3 separate regions of the Homo sapiens genome follow, and all the other regions are linked to region 3. The links are contacts of gene promoters, found by promoter capture Hi-C in blood cells and fetal thymus (Javierre and others, 2016). All regions are on one chromosome and are shown on one strand. Each heading gives the region's core, a stretch centred on a gene start or on the middle of the fragment in contact. The rest is flanking DNA. Distances are from core to core; before and after follow the strand shown. Region 1 overlaps ZBTB16 (zinc finger and BTB domain containing 16). Region 2 overlaps ZBTB16 (zinc finger and BTB domain containing 16). Region 3 holds the start of USP28 (ubiquitin specific peptidase 28).

What was found. The method cuts DNA at HindIII sites, captures the fragments that hold promoters and counts their contacts. A CHiCAGO score of 5 or more calls a contact.
Region 1: a contact is called between a fragment that was not itself captured here and the fragment with the promoter of USP28 in region 3, in 1 of 17 cell types (total B cells). The highest score is 5.2, in total B cells.
Region 2: a fragment that was not itself captured here is called in contact with the fragment with the promoter of USP28 in region 3 in 2 of 17 cell types (total B cells and neutrophils); the score reaches 9.9 in total B cells.

What each region holds. Positions count from the first base shown.
Region 1 is chr11:114,175,068-114,179,867 of GRCh38, forward strand. The region is part of intron 3 of ZBTB16 (zinc finger and BTB domain containing 16); the gene reads left to right. Among named protein-coding and RNA genes, the nearest start is that of ZBTB16, 120 kb to the left of the region's middle. The HindIII fragment of the contact is 5,598 bases long and covers 1-4,800 here.
Region 2 is chr11:114,141,980-114,146,638 of GRCh38, forward strand. The region is part of intron 2 of ZBTB16 (zinc finger and BTB domain containing 16); the gene reads left to right. Among named protein-coding and RNA genes, the nearest start is that of ZBTB16, 85 kb to the left of the region's middle. The HindIII fragment of the contact is 756 bases long and covers 2,767-3,522 here.
Region 3 is chr11:113,873,658-113,878,211 of GRCh38, forward strand. USP28 (ubiquitin specific peptidase 28) reads right to left here and starts at 1,915. Exons shown (of 26, transcript NM_001346252.4): 1 at 1,788-1,915. The coding sequence starts at 1,844. RefSeq lists enhancers at 1-303, 1,890-2,184, 2,174-2,423, 2,474-3,135 and silencers at 1,614-1,973, 1,994-2,153. The HindIII fragment of the contact is 13,869 bases long and covers 1-4,554 here.

The DNA.
Region 1 (4,800 bases), core at 851-3,350, 300 kb after region 3:
TGATGATACATCCTTCCTATCCTAAAAGCAGGACTTCAAAGTTGCACAACAGCAGTGACACCACTCACTCAGAAATGGGACTGTAAGGTTGTTGAAGGTTTAAACAAGATGATGCACATGAAGGTGCCCAGCACAGAAAGTGGAGCTCAACAGGCACACAACACCAATACTTTCACTCCTTCCCTTCCAAGGAACCTACAAAGGCTGCCCTGCAATAAGGAGTCACAATGCTGCTGCTGCCATAGTGTTGACAGTCATCACAATAAAAATACTAATAACATGTGTTGCCCATTCATTATGATGCAAGCATTGTGCTAACTACTTTACATGCAATATACCAGTTAATTCTCCCAACAACTCTAAGATTACCCCCCATTTTATACATGTGCAAACTTTTTTTTTTTTTGGAGACAGAGTCTCTTTCTGTTGCCCAGGCTGGAGTGCAGTGGCGTGATTTCAGCTCAACGCAACCTCCTCTCCCGGGTTCAAATGATTCTCCTGCCTCAGCCTCCCGAGTAGCTGGGAGAGGACAGGGGATTCTGAGACCCAAGCAATGAAGGAATTATCAATATTGAGATGCCAAAGAGATCTCAGCATTGTGAGAGGACTCGGCATTCTCTTCAGTCAGTGGGAAATGAGAGAGGCAGGGACCAGCCTGGAGAAAGTGAGGGAAGCCAAGAATGCCATCGAGACTGAGGAATGCTGCCTCCTATTCCCTTTAAAATACCTCCAATGAGGTATGTCATTTGGCAGGAGTGTCAGGAGATGCTGGGGGACCGGGGCAGGGCCAGGTTATCAGCTTGAAATGGGTGGAGTAGGCACTTGGATCCCGGCCACCACCCTTGGAGGGGTCTTAGTCTTCTTTTTTCCATTGCCCAGCCAGTATTGTGAATCCTACTCAGGGGAGAGGGGTGTGTGTGTGTGTGTGTGTGTGCGTGCGTGTGTGTGTGTGTGTGTATGTGTGAAATCCTCCATGCCATATTTAGGGTGGGGGCCTGTGACGGAGCATTCTGAAGTTGCTTCAGAAGAAAGGAGCAGAATAGATGAGGATGAGAGGAGACCGAAGGCTCAGATCACAGGCTGAGCTTTGGGACTGCTGGGGGCCAACAGAAACTTCTCTTTTCATTCTGAACTTCTCTCCTGAGAATCCCCAAGGGGAGACCTGGGAGGAGGGTGATTGTTGGTGTTTAGGAGTTGCGGAGATGTCCCATAAAATCATGGCAGAAACCCTTACTCTTATATCCCTGGCTTTATTATCCAGCCTCTCACAAATGCCAAGGTTGCAAAGCTATCTATCTCTCTTAAACAAAACAAAGTTATGAACACTTGAAAGCCCAGGTATTCCCTGGAACTCGGGTCAGTCTTTGGCACAGCCGCACTGACCCAGCCTGACTCTGGCTAATGATTCTCCCAATGTCTGGACTCTCTGTTCCATTCTACCTGCCTGATAGAGCAGAATATTCACCTTGAGAAGGATTCTGCTGGCTGAACCGGGGAACCCAGCCCTCGCTTGGTCTCAACAGCACCTTCCAAACACCAAGGGTTGTATGCATTTGAGCTCTCGTGTACGGCCACGTTTAACTTTCTTTGCCATGAGCGCCCAGCTTCTCATGAACACCTGTTCATCCTTTCTCCCTTAGAGATGTCCCAGTTTAAAACTTGTCATTTCAAGATGGAGAGATAAAGGGATTCACCAAGGGTTACACAGCTCAGGCAGTGACAGTCAGGACCGCAAGTCAGTTTCTTTTGGTACTTTGGAAAATCTTGGGTGCGCTGGCCAGCAGAACCCTCCTTGAGCCAGTTATCTACCCTGTCTTACCTAAGGGTGGTCCTGTCTCCCATTCCAGATAGCATAATATCATGTATACGAGAGCCTTAGAGAACATAGTGTCTCATTTATGCAGGCCATTTACTTATTGCGATTGGGCTTCTCCCAGAGCTGTGGGACTGGAAATACTATGGGCTGCATACCCTGTAGGCTGTGGCCAGGAGCTGTCCTCCTGGAGCTCATCAGCTTGATGAAGTGAAATTATTCTATAATCATGATAATGACTGTGACTTGAGCACCTGCTATGTGCCAGGTACTTCATATAGTTTCTTGTTTAAGCTATCATATGAGGATGAATAGCTACATTTTCAGGAGGGAAGTGAGGCTGCGAAGTTGATGCTGGTACCGTACCGGTAGAACCTTAAAGCCGTCTCTGGATTTGAGCTGTTGCTGTTGCCAGGCTGGAGTGCAGTGGTGCGATCTCGGCTCACCACAACCTCTGCCTCCGGGGTTCTAGCGATTCTCCTGCCCCAGGCTCCCGAGTAGCTGGGATTACAGGCATGTGCCACCATGCCCGGCTAATTTTGTATTTTTAGTAGAGATGGGGCTTCTTCATGTTGGTCAGGCTGGTCTCCAACTCCAGACCTCAGGTGATCCGCCCGCCTCGGCCTGCCAAAGTGCTGGGTAATTACAGGCATGAGCCACCGCACCCGGCCCGGGACTTCATTTTGAGGGGGCCTGACCGTTAACCTCCGAGAGATCTCTCAGTTGGCAAAGCATGTCTGGAAGGAAGTCTGGTTCATCACAGCAGGGACTGACATTCCTGTAGTAAGAGAGATTTTGTGCCCTTGTGCTGACTACCACAATACCATGATTGCTCAGTCATAGAAGTTGCCAGGAGAAGAAAGAGATTAGAAGCAATGGTAAGGTGAACCCCTGAGTCACTACTCTTAGACTTCAGGAATATTTGTAATTTTTTTTGGAGACAGAGTATCACTCCGTCACCCAGGCTGGGGTTACAGGCACAAGCTATTGCACCTGGCCTGTATTTTTAAAAAATCTGCAACAAATTTACTATCCTACTTGCATTTTATTTAAAATAATTCACTCATGTATTTTTAAAAACATAAATCATCTCAAACTGGTTTGCATTCCCTGGTTCCCTTCTGGGTAGGCAGTAGGAGGGTAATAATACCATTAAACATTGGCCATGAGTGATGATGGGAGCAGACGGTAGGGGTGTCATTTCCTTGATCTCCTCCTGGGGAAGAATGATCTGACCCCATCTTTACTGGTGTGTTTTGGCTGGAGAGGTAAGAATATTTTAAATTGCGTGATATATCTCTTGCATGCATTTGATGTTTGTGTGTGTCTTATACCTTGCTATTATTTTATCTCCTGATGACAATGATGATGTTGGTCTTAATGACAACTAGCATTTATTGGGCTATTATTGTATGCCAGACAGGGTATTAAACACTTTACATATATTATTTAAATTAATCATCCCTCAACCAACCCTGTGGCATAAACACTCTGAGCCCAGTTTTCTAGGTAAGAAACAGGCCCAGAAGAGATAATTCACTTCTTCAGGGTGGTAGCTAGACATGGTAGAACTGGGACTTGAACCAGAGTTTGTTTGATTCCAGAGAGCGTGCTCTTCACTACCTTACTGTGCAGCTTAATATTGAGTGCATGTGTGTGTTCTGGCTGTGGACAGTGTTTCTAAGCCTGTTGGATTACCCGCTGGTGCTAAAAGGGGTAACAAAAGAGCTTTCCAAGCCACTCTGGCTGAGAATTGAGTTGCAGGGATAAGGGACAAGGTAGACCTGTGTGCTCCCTGTGGGACTTGAGAGAGGGACTGCAGGATCCCAGTAAGAGACAAGGGCACCATGCAGCTTCCTAGTAGCATCACATTTATTAGGTAGGATAAGAAATGTTCCCTCAGCCATAGAGATGTCTCAGCATTTCCTCCTGACCCAGTCCAGGGTTTCCTCTTCTGCAGAGTGGATATTTAGCCACACATGAGGTGTCAGTCATTTGCCAGGTCACTGGTGGGACACTGGCTTTTGGAGATCTAAAAACCACCTGTCCTCCATCCCAGGTGACTCCCGTTGTTCTGTTGCTCAGCCCAGGAGAATTCCCTGGTGTCTTTCTCCATCCTATATTTATGTGGGGTCCTGTATCATTAGTTCATTCACCCTCCCATCTTGTAGTGAGTGAGGCCGAACTCTGAGGATCTTTCCCCACAGCCTTGTCAACCACAGCTACCCTTGAACCATATCCTGGACCTATCAATGGGGCTGGTTGTTTTCCTTTCAGCCAGGATTTGCTCACCTGCTTTCCCTTTTCCCTCTTCCCTGAATCTGTGTATCTTCCAGAAACTCTGGTTCTGGATCAGCTTTTTGTTTTGTTGACAAAGGAGAAAGAGCAAGAGAGAGAGCTAGAGAGAGAGAGAGAGAGAGCCTTCAAGCTCCTCTCTGGGAGTACACATCTCCTTGAGGGAAAGAACACACAGTGCCGGCCTTTGGAATTGGCAGCCAGTGTGCTGTTCTCCGTCTGATAAGAGGTACTGTAAATAAAACTGTACACCATGGCCTGTTGTAAAATGCCCTGCGTCTGTACTCATTGTTCTGACAGCTTATGCTTTTTTTGGGTCTGCTGTTTTGGTACACTCTGTACTTCCTTATGTAAGCAGGCGTGCAGATCTCATCAGAACATTCAAGATGTTTATTTTAAAATCTCAAGGAATTTTGAAAAAAAGGACACACCACTCAACATTAGATGCTGGCAAACATTAGGTGTTTTTTCAGTGGTTCTTTTTTTTCTCCCTTCTTATTATTAGCATGGGGGTGGGAGAGGCTTTGGAGAGGGAGGGATTTGAATTTTTTTTTTCTTCCCTCATTGGCTTCTGCCTTATTTCCTTCAGAGAGACACCACCCCATATCTGATTGCATTCAGTGTCTTCTGCTTCCTTCCTGGATGCCGGGACCCCCTCAGCCTCATTTCTGGTTAGGGCAGGTAGGGAGGGA
Region 2 (4,659 bases), core at 1,895-4,394, 270 kb after region 3:
TTATCACTTTTCGTGTCTCTGACATCATTTTAGCACCTGAGATGATGTTATGCTCTTGGCTTGTGCTCAGGAAATGCTTAATGAATGACTGAAAAGGCACTTGGGCTTCTGGAGGTGACTTGGTGACAAATGCTCAGTGTGATGTTGTCTTTGTGGCAGATGCTCATTATGAGGTTGTCTTTGCCTATATTCAGGCTTGGCAGGTTCTTGTGGCAGCGGTGGTTAAGGATTAAGGCATTGTGTGGAGTATGGTGGGGGCTGCAGCCGACAACCTTCCTGTTGCCTAAAAACTTTTTCTCCTTCCCACCCCCTTCCCCAGTAGCTCTATGCCCTGCCAAGTCTGTGCACAAGCCTTGAAATGACAAAGTACCCTTTAGTTAATTGCACAACGGATTGCCTAGAGTTAAAAGTTCTGATTTATATGACTATAGCTCTAACTGCTCAATAACACAGGCCTGTAATCTACCTTCATTTCAAACAGAACGGTGATTTATAGGGCAGCATGCCGCTTTAGCTCAGAAATGAGGTGTTCAACATATGCGCTGTTGACATAAATTTGGAATTTATCGCTGTTGTCAAAACTGCCTGTTGGACAAAGGTGGGTATTAAGGCAATAAATGGCTCAGAATAGTTTTCTGTCACATTTCCTAACCATTGTATTCAGTCTATTTGAGGGAAAAATATATACTTAAAAGTAATCAAATGTCCAAAATCCATGCATCTTGTTTTGAATGGTGGGAAGGGAGGATGTAGGGAGGATGGAGGAGCATGGGGCCTTGGGGAGGGGGAGCTGGGGGGATTGTGGAGGAGAAAGCTTTTCATGAAGTTATGGCCCGTTTAAAAAAGATTCCACTCTGCCTCCTCCCCCATCCCCATCGGGAGGTGGGCTTTCCTTTCTCATTTACAAAAACGGGGAGGAAAAATGAAAGCTCATTAAATAAAAATAGTAAAGGACATTTTTATGTGTGGGCTTAAAACCAGCAATGTCAGGGAGGAGTTAGTGAGTGGGGCTGTGAGGGAGGCAGAACAGGATTTTGTTTATGGGGAAATAAAGCCCCTGGCCAGCGTTGGTTTCTCTGCTGCCTTGGTGAGCGTGGGCTTGCTCCCACCTACTCTCCCAGGTTCCGAGGCTCCTGTGCACACGGTGAATGTGTGCTGGCTGATGAGGGTGAGGAGCGGTGGGTACCCGGCTCTAAGCAATATGTTCTACTCCATCCAAATCCCGATTGATTTATTACCCACTGTACAGCCAAGATGCATCCACCCCTCATCCATCCACTAATGCTGTGCCCTTTGCAAGGCTTGAGAATACAAGATGAATGAGGCAAAGCCCTGTCTTCATGTAGCTGCCCATCCAGCTGGAGAGACAGAGAAACAAGCAGATGCACCCTAGTGAGTACATCTGCTCCAACAGAAACACACTTAAAAGACAGAGGCTGGGGGGGAAAGGGGGTCAGCTTTGAGAGGGGACAGAGGGGAGCTACTGGGGAAGGCTTCTAGGGATGGTACTGACCCTCTTGCCTAGTGAAATGTCCTTTTGGAAGTATCAGGTTCCTGCAGGGAGATTACACAAAAATGTAGAAAAAATACGCTAGTGACAGGTCCTCCCTCCATCCCAGATGTGTGATGTTGTGGTCAGGTGATCACTGATGTGTGTCAGTGTATTGTAAGAGTGGGGCCAACGTCCTTGTGCATTGAGGCTCCAGCCTCTCTTCTCCTCCATGCCATGGACCGTCGCTGCATCATCTAAGCACAGGGCACCCAGGCGGGTAGCACAGGTGGCTTAGCAAATGCAGTCAGAGTCAAGGTTAAGAATCGATCTCTTCATTCTGTTTCAAGATTACATAGCATGCAGTATGTTGTTGGGTATTGTGTTGCACCGTGAGACTGAAAGTGTGGATGTTTCCAGAGAGCCGCTGCTTGGCCTCTGTGCTCGTTGGGCCTCGAGTCACTGGTATTATGCATTTCCTGTGTGCTCGGGAGCCTTGCGTGTAAGGAGCAAGAGGAGCACGCAAGCTGCCTGGTGCTTTTCCCCATGAAAATGAGGCCCAGCAGGGAAGAGGATTCGTATTTGTTGCTTTTATTTTATTTTTCCTTTTATCTCCATGCCCACACGCTTGGACCGTCTCAGCATTGATAAATGTGTGCTCTCACAAACATGCACACAATCCCCTTTCTCTGGCCTGTGTGTTTGCCAGACACACACACACACACACACACACACACACACACACTCCCACGCACACTGGGCATGGACACCAATTGTAAACCTCGTCCGTGTGGCTCACCCTCCTTTTGCCACCAACCCCTGTCCTTTTCACACAAAGCTCCCTGTTGGGAAAACTCATAATTTTCACACCACACAGCCTTGACTGGCCATTGCTGGAATTACTGTCTCTTTGAAGTGCTTTCTACTGGGGCATTTACAGGCCGTTTTAATTACCTGCAGCTTGCAAAGGGCCTTGCTCTGTCCCAGCCTTTGTTTGTTTGTTCTTTGCAAGGAGTCTGTGTAGAAAGGAATACGGCTGACTTCTTTTACAAAAAAGAAAAGGGGGTAGAAAAAGAAGTTTGGGGAGCCCTTAACAGAGCTTCTTGCCGCAGCCTGCTGTGGGACACCATGCCCACTCTAACAAGGCCAGGAAGAGAGGCTCTCGCCCTTGGCTGTCTTCTCAGCAGGTTCCAGCACCGTGGGTCCCACTCCTGGAGCTTGCCTGGGATATTTTTGTTCATGCGTTTATGTTTTAATTATTATTAAGTATATTTTCAAGCTTTCTACCAGAGACAGCAAGGGCTGTCAAATCATGTTTCCCTCACTGTTGACCAAATCAAAGCTGGCTTCAGTTGAGCTGGGATCCCTCTTATATTTTCAACTAAATCTGTTCAAGGAAGGTGCATTATTAAATTATTGAGTTTAGACGTGGGCTGGAGGGTAGGGGTTGAAATCACATATGTGAAAGGAGTGCCCACTTTGAGCTGTCTGGTGTTTTTCTTTCCTTTTCTTCATTTTTCACTTGATTCTCTAAAAGGAACTACATATAAATAGCATTCTTTGGGGTTTCTGTTAAATATGAGTGTAGCATGTCATGTCTGCAGATGAAGATGCTAGTTTACCAAAGAAGCCTCAGAACTGTATCCCCTTTTTGGGGGGCTTTTACAGCAGAGGAAATCTTTATTCATTTATTCACTTAGTCCAAAAATGTATTGAGAAATTGGAAACCTCATACATTGCTGATGGGAATGTAAAATGGTATAGCTGCTTTGGAAAACAGTCTGGCAGTTCCTTAAAAGGTTAAACATAGAGTTACCATATGAGCTGGCAATTCCACTCCTAGGTATATACCCAAGAGAAGTGAAAACATATGTCCACACATAAAACTTGTACACAAATGTTCATAGCAGCATTATTCGTAATAGCCAAAAGGTCAAAACAACCAAATGTCCATCAGCTGATGAATGGATAAACAAAGTATGGTATATCCCTACAGAGGAACAAAGTACTGATACAAGCTATGATAGGAATGAAGCTTGAAAACATGCTGTGTGAGAGAAGCCAGACCCCAAAGGGTGCATATTGTATGATACCATTTATATGAAATGTTCAAAATAGGCAAATCTGTAGAGGAAGATAGTACATATGTGGTTGCCAAAGGCTGGGGGTTGAGGGGAGGAATGGAGAGTGACTGCTAATGAGTACGAGGTTTCTTTTCAGGGTGATGAAAATATTCTGGAATTTGATAGTGATGATGGTTGCACAGTTCTATGAATATGCTACAAACCAGTGAATGGTATACTTGACAAGGATAAATTTTGTGGTACGTGGAAAATACCTCAGTAAAGCTATTTAGAAAAGTGTACTGAATACTTACTCTATACAGCACACCCTGGCATACTCTGAGGTTATAGTGGATGGTTTCTGCCTTAATGTAACTTATAGTCTAGTAGAGATAAAGAATACTAATAAAAAGCTAATATATAACTGAAAATTGTGTTAAATGTTATAAAGGAAATCAACAAAATGCAATGATGGAAAATTGCGTTGATGGACAACCTACCTAGAAGGGCTGTGGGTCAGGAGCAGCCTGACTTTACTGGAGTCCAGCATACGGTAGGCGCTTAACAGATATAGGGTGAGTAGCAGTGGGGCATGAGTCGGCTTGCCTTCCCTGTAGAAGGTTATGAAGTCCCTGCGAGACCCACAGCCTGTCAGTAGACTCTGGGTACCATCATTCAATTTACTTTTTTTCTTAGAGGCCTCTCTGTTCTTGCTTCTATTCAATTAGATGGAGAAAATCCCAGGAATGCTCTCGGTGACTCCTTTTTAGCTGCTGGTTTTCCTGCCCCTTTCAGGGAAAGACTCTGGCTTAGGTAGGAATATGAAGGCAGACCCTGAGGTGAGAAGTCTGGCGAAGTCTGCCTGTTTATAGGGGCAAGTAAGTCATGTGGCCTCACTTTCTCCATCCACAAAATGGGCTCTATACTGTCCATGTCAGCCACAGGGTGGTTGAGATGATCCTCAGGAAGCCCTTTCAAAGTCAGACATGATCTATAAATGCATTACCTTCTTTATCATTAAAACCTCAGTTGGGGCTAGGCACGGTGGCTCATACTTGTAATTCCAGCACTTTGGGAGGCCGAGGCGGGTGGATCGCTTGAGGTCAG
Region 3 (4,554 bases), core at 665-3,164:
AAAATTTTCCCATGTTTTTAAATCACTGTGCTAAAAACAAATAGAACTGACCTCTGAAGCCAGAGAAAAATCTTGACACATTTCAATAGGCACTTGTGAACATCTAACAATATTTCCATTAGAAGTCAGTGCATGATACTTTCGTTTCGGAGCCCAGGACCTGGAAGTATCTTTTTCTACATGAGTTTTAAAAAGCGCATCCAGGCTGGGCGCCCTGGTTCACGCCTGTAATCCCAGCACTTTGGGAGGCCGAGGCGGGCGGATCATGAGGTCAAGAGACCGAGACCATCCTGGCCAACACAGTGAAATCCCATCTCTACTAAAAATACAAAAATTAGCTGGGCGTGGTGGCACGCGCCTGTAGTCCCAGCTACTCGGGAGGCTGAGGCAGGAGAATCGCTTGAACCCGGGAGACGGAAGTTGCAGTGAGCCGAGATCGCGCCACTGCACCCCAGCCTGGGCGACAAAGTGAGACTCCGTCTGGAAAAAAAAAAAAAAAAAAAGTGCGTCCAGACTGGGCGCGGTGGCTCACGCCTGTAATCCCAGCACTCTGGAAGGCCGAGGCGGGCGAATCACCTTAAGTCGGGAGTTTGAGACCAGCCTGACCAATATGGTGAAACCCCGACTCTACTAAAAATACAAAAATTAGCCGGGCCGGTGGCAAGCACCTGTAATACCAGCTACTCAGGAGGGTGAGGCGGAGGATGCAGTGAGCCGACATCGCGCCACAGCACTCCAGCCTAGGCAACAGAGGGAGACTCTGTCGAAAAAAAAAAAAAAAAAAAAAAAAAAGTGTCTCCATGCTAAATACTACTGGCCTTCCAGACAAAAGAGTAAAAAGGTATAAAAGGATTCTCACCTGAGGGTATCTGTCTGCCAGCTTTGTACGACAAATATAGTTTCTCATCTCCAAACTCGTATTTGAACAACTGGCACAGATTTCCCGTTTTCTCTTGAAAAAGTGCAGTACTTGAGGGGTGAGGAGGTGGTGTTAAGTTATAACATTCCGAAGTAACACTAGAAGACATGCTCAAATTGCCCTCTTCCCAAGTTTCTTCATACAGACATTAGCTTTTCTCTCAAACCAGGGTTCTTTCACTCTCACCAGATTCTTAGATCAGAAGTCCTTATATTGATTTCAATCTTCTTAGACATTGGGAACAGGAGATCATCATCAGTAGACTTTCTATTCATCACGCAGCTCCTCCCCCTCCTTAAAAATCTAGAGCGATGAAGGCAATAATTGGGGAGGCTGCGCTGTTTTGTTTTTAAAGCCGGGTTGGGAGGGAGGGAAGTGGTGGTAACTGGGACCCCTGGTCTTATAGAAGACGGTGATTAATTCCGGACTTTAAGTGAGATAACTTCGGTCTGCTTTAACCTTTTAAAAACGCCGCCATAAAACTGATTTAAAAGTCAAAGCAAAACAAAACCAACCAACGCTGCCGCTTTCGGAAGTTTCTCACCCCGGACGGGGCCCAGGAGGGCTCACCTTACTGATCCCTGCGGCGGAGAACCCCACGTCCAGCCCTTTATATTTGGTTTTCCAAAATCTGGAAATCCCCCTACAACTTCAGCTCGCCCACGGACGCGAAGATGCAGTCCTCAATCTCCGCGGCCCGAGCCCCGCAGAGCCCTTGGCCTTCTCACCCACGCTGGCGGGCGCACCCCCTGTCCCGCCCGGCCGGGGCGCCCTCCGCAGCCCGCAACCCGCAGCCCTGCAGGCCCCGCACGCTCCCCTCAGGGCCTGGAGCCCGCCCCCAGCTCCCGCTCGCCGCCGCGGAGCCCACCGAGCCGTGGCCGTCTGCCGCGCCGGCCGCGTCGTCCTGCTGCAGCTCCGCAGTCATGGCCGAGGCGCCCAGCCGCGGGTCACCGGTCTCCCGCCGCAGCCGCCGCCGGCCCAGCCTCTCAGGACTAGGCCCCGCCCCCGCCCTCCACCCCGCTCCGTCCCGCCCCCGCCCGCAGCGCGCGCCGGAGGCTTGGCCCACATGCCCCGCCCCCGGCATGCGCGCGCACGCAAGGCGCGCGGCCCGGGGCCGAACAGTTCTGCGTGCTCCCGCGCACGCCCGGCTGACCAGACGTCGGTCACGTGATCCCGGCCCCGCCTGTCGCTGTTGGTCAGCTTCACAGCCGGTGGAGGCTGCGGGCCGCGCTGCCAGTGTCCGGGAACTGGGTTTGCGAATCCTGGGAGCCGCGTTCCTGAGTCTTCTCCGCTCTCTGCCCTCAAAACCTCATTTGTAGGACTGACCTCCGGCTCCACCCTCCCCACGGGCGAGTTAAAACTGTTCCCCCGCCGTGGGAAACTGCCGAATGACCGTGGAATAAAGGATTTCCCATCAGGCTTTGTAGCCATTTCCAACTCCAATGACATGAAGAAGTGTTCACCATCTTTAAGGAGAGAAGGAGGATGAATGCAGTCGCTTGTCTAAAGCTAACCAAACGGACCAAAGCCTCCGTTCATGGGTGTCCCGCTTGGTGCCCTTAACCCTGATGCTCTTAACCTGGGCATGATAAGGAAAATTGCAGTTTTTCCATTTTCGATTTTCAGAAGTTCAAACTAAAATTTTGTGTTACTTTGTTACGTTTGAGCCAGATATTTACGATTTCATGTTAAAAGACCAGGTGCTCCTATTGAATTGTTTTTTGTTTGGTTGGTTTCGGTTTGTTTTTTTTTTTTTCTTTTTTTTTGAGACGGAGTCTCACTCTGTCCCCTCAAGCTGGAGTGCAGCCGCACGGTCTCGGCTCACTGCAACTTCCGCCTCCTGGGTTCAAGCGATTCTCCTGAGTAGCTGGGATTACAGGCACGCTGTACCACACCCAGGGTTTCACCATGTTGCCCAGGCTGGCCTCGAATTCCTGACCTCAGGTGATCCGCCCGTCTCGGCCTTCCATAATGCTGGGATTATAGGCGTGAGCCACCGCGCCAGGCCTGAATTGTATTTTCAACAACTGTGTGGGAATTGTGATTACTGAACCATGTTTCACATTTAAGATACAAATGTGTTATGATGGCAAACCCACTTGACAGGCTGCTGGGTGTCCCAAATCTGCGTAGAGGCTGAGTGTGGAAGCGCGTCTTTTAAGAGTAGCACCTACACCCTTGCCCTGGTCTGGTCTGACTCTCAAGCTACACTTTTAAGTGTGAATTTAACATGGACGGTGGCCTTTCCTATACTCCTGGCATTGTTGTCGCTGGGATTGTTATGTTTCACCTGCAGGCCTCCCTAGTCTGCATGCGGGCGCAGTTTTTGACAAAAGGAAACAGGTACAGGTCAGGTGCAGCTCCCAGGAGAGGCCAGATTACTCTCTGAGGCCTGAACTAGGACTCCTGCAACTTCCACCACCTGGAGATACAGGGATCCGCTTCCCCTGGCAGATTAACTGGCAGATTGGCATGGCTGCGGTGATACTAACTTGGAATCTTCCACATTCAACAGGCTGACTGTGTTTGTGTCTGCGAGTAGTAGGACATTTTATGTATGTGGCTCTGCCATTTTTCCTTTCCTCATGAGTGACTGTGTTTATGGCCTCAACCTGGGTGTCACTGTAGAACAGGTTGATTTCAGGTTGATGCTGGTTTTCTTTTTTTTTTTTTTTTTTTTTGAGACAGGGTCTCACTCTGTCACCCAGACTGAAATACAGTAGTGAGATCATGGCTCACTGCAGCCTTGAATTCCTGGGCTCAAGCAGTCCAACTGCCTCAGCCTCTGAAGCAGCAGGGACTTCATGCATGTGCCATGCCCAACTAATTTTTGTGTCTTTTTTATGGAGATGGGATCTCACTGTGTTGCCCAGGATGGTCTCAAACTTCTGGTCTCAAGCAATCCTCCTGCCTTGGCCTCCCAAAATTTGGGGATTACAGACATGAGTCACCACGCCCAGCCCACATTGATTTCTGAGTCTAGCTTATTTACAGCATTGCCTATTTCTACACTGCTAGAATGCTTTATTTACCATGTCTCTGGAGCAACCCTTATTTGTCTTTACACATTCATTTTAGGAAATTGCATGTTTATTGTGTGTAAGTGCTGTCAAAACCTATAATCCTTTGTATTAGTCTGTTCTCACACTGCCATAAAGAATTACCTGAGCCTGGGTAAGTTATGAAGAAAAGAGGTTTGACTCAGGGGCATAACAGGAAGCAAGACTGGGAGGCCTCAGGAAACGTACAATCGTGGTGGAAGGCAAAGGGGAAGCAGGCATGTCTCACCATGGCAGAGTAGGAGAGATAGAACAAAAGAAGTGTCCCCCCCGACCCCCCGCACACACACACACACAAAGATCTCATAAGAACTCACTATCATGAGAAATGCATGGGGGAAATCCACCCCATAATCTAATCATGTCCCACCAGGTCCCTCCCCTGGCAAGTGGGAATACAATTCGACATGAGATTTGGGTGGGGACCCAGAGCCAAACCATATTACCCTTATTCATTAAAATTTTCTTTTTTTTTTTTTTTTTTTGAGACGGGGTATCGTTCTGTCGCCCAGGCTGGAGTGCAGTGGTGTGATCTCAGCTCCCTGAAACCTCTGCCTCCCGGGTTCAAGCAGCTCT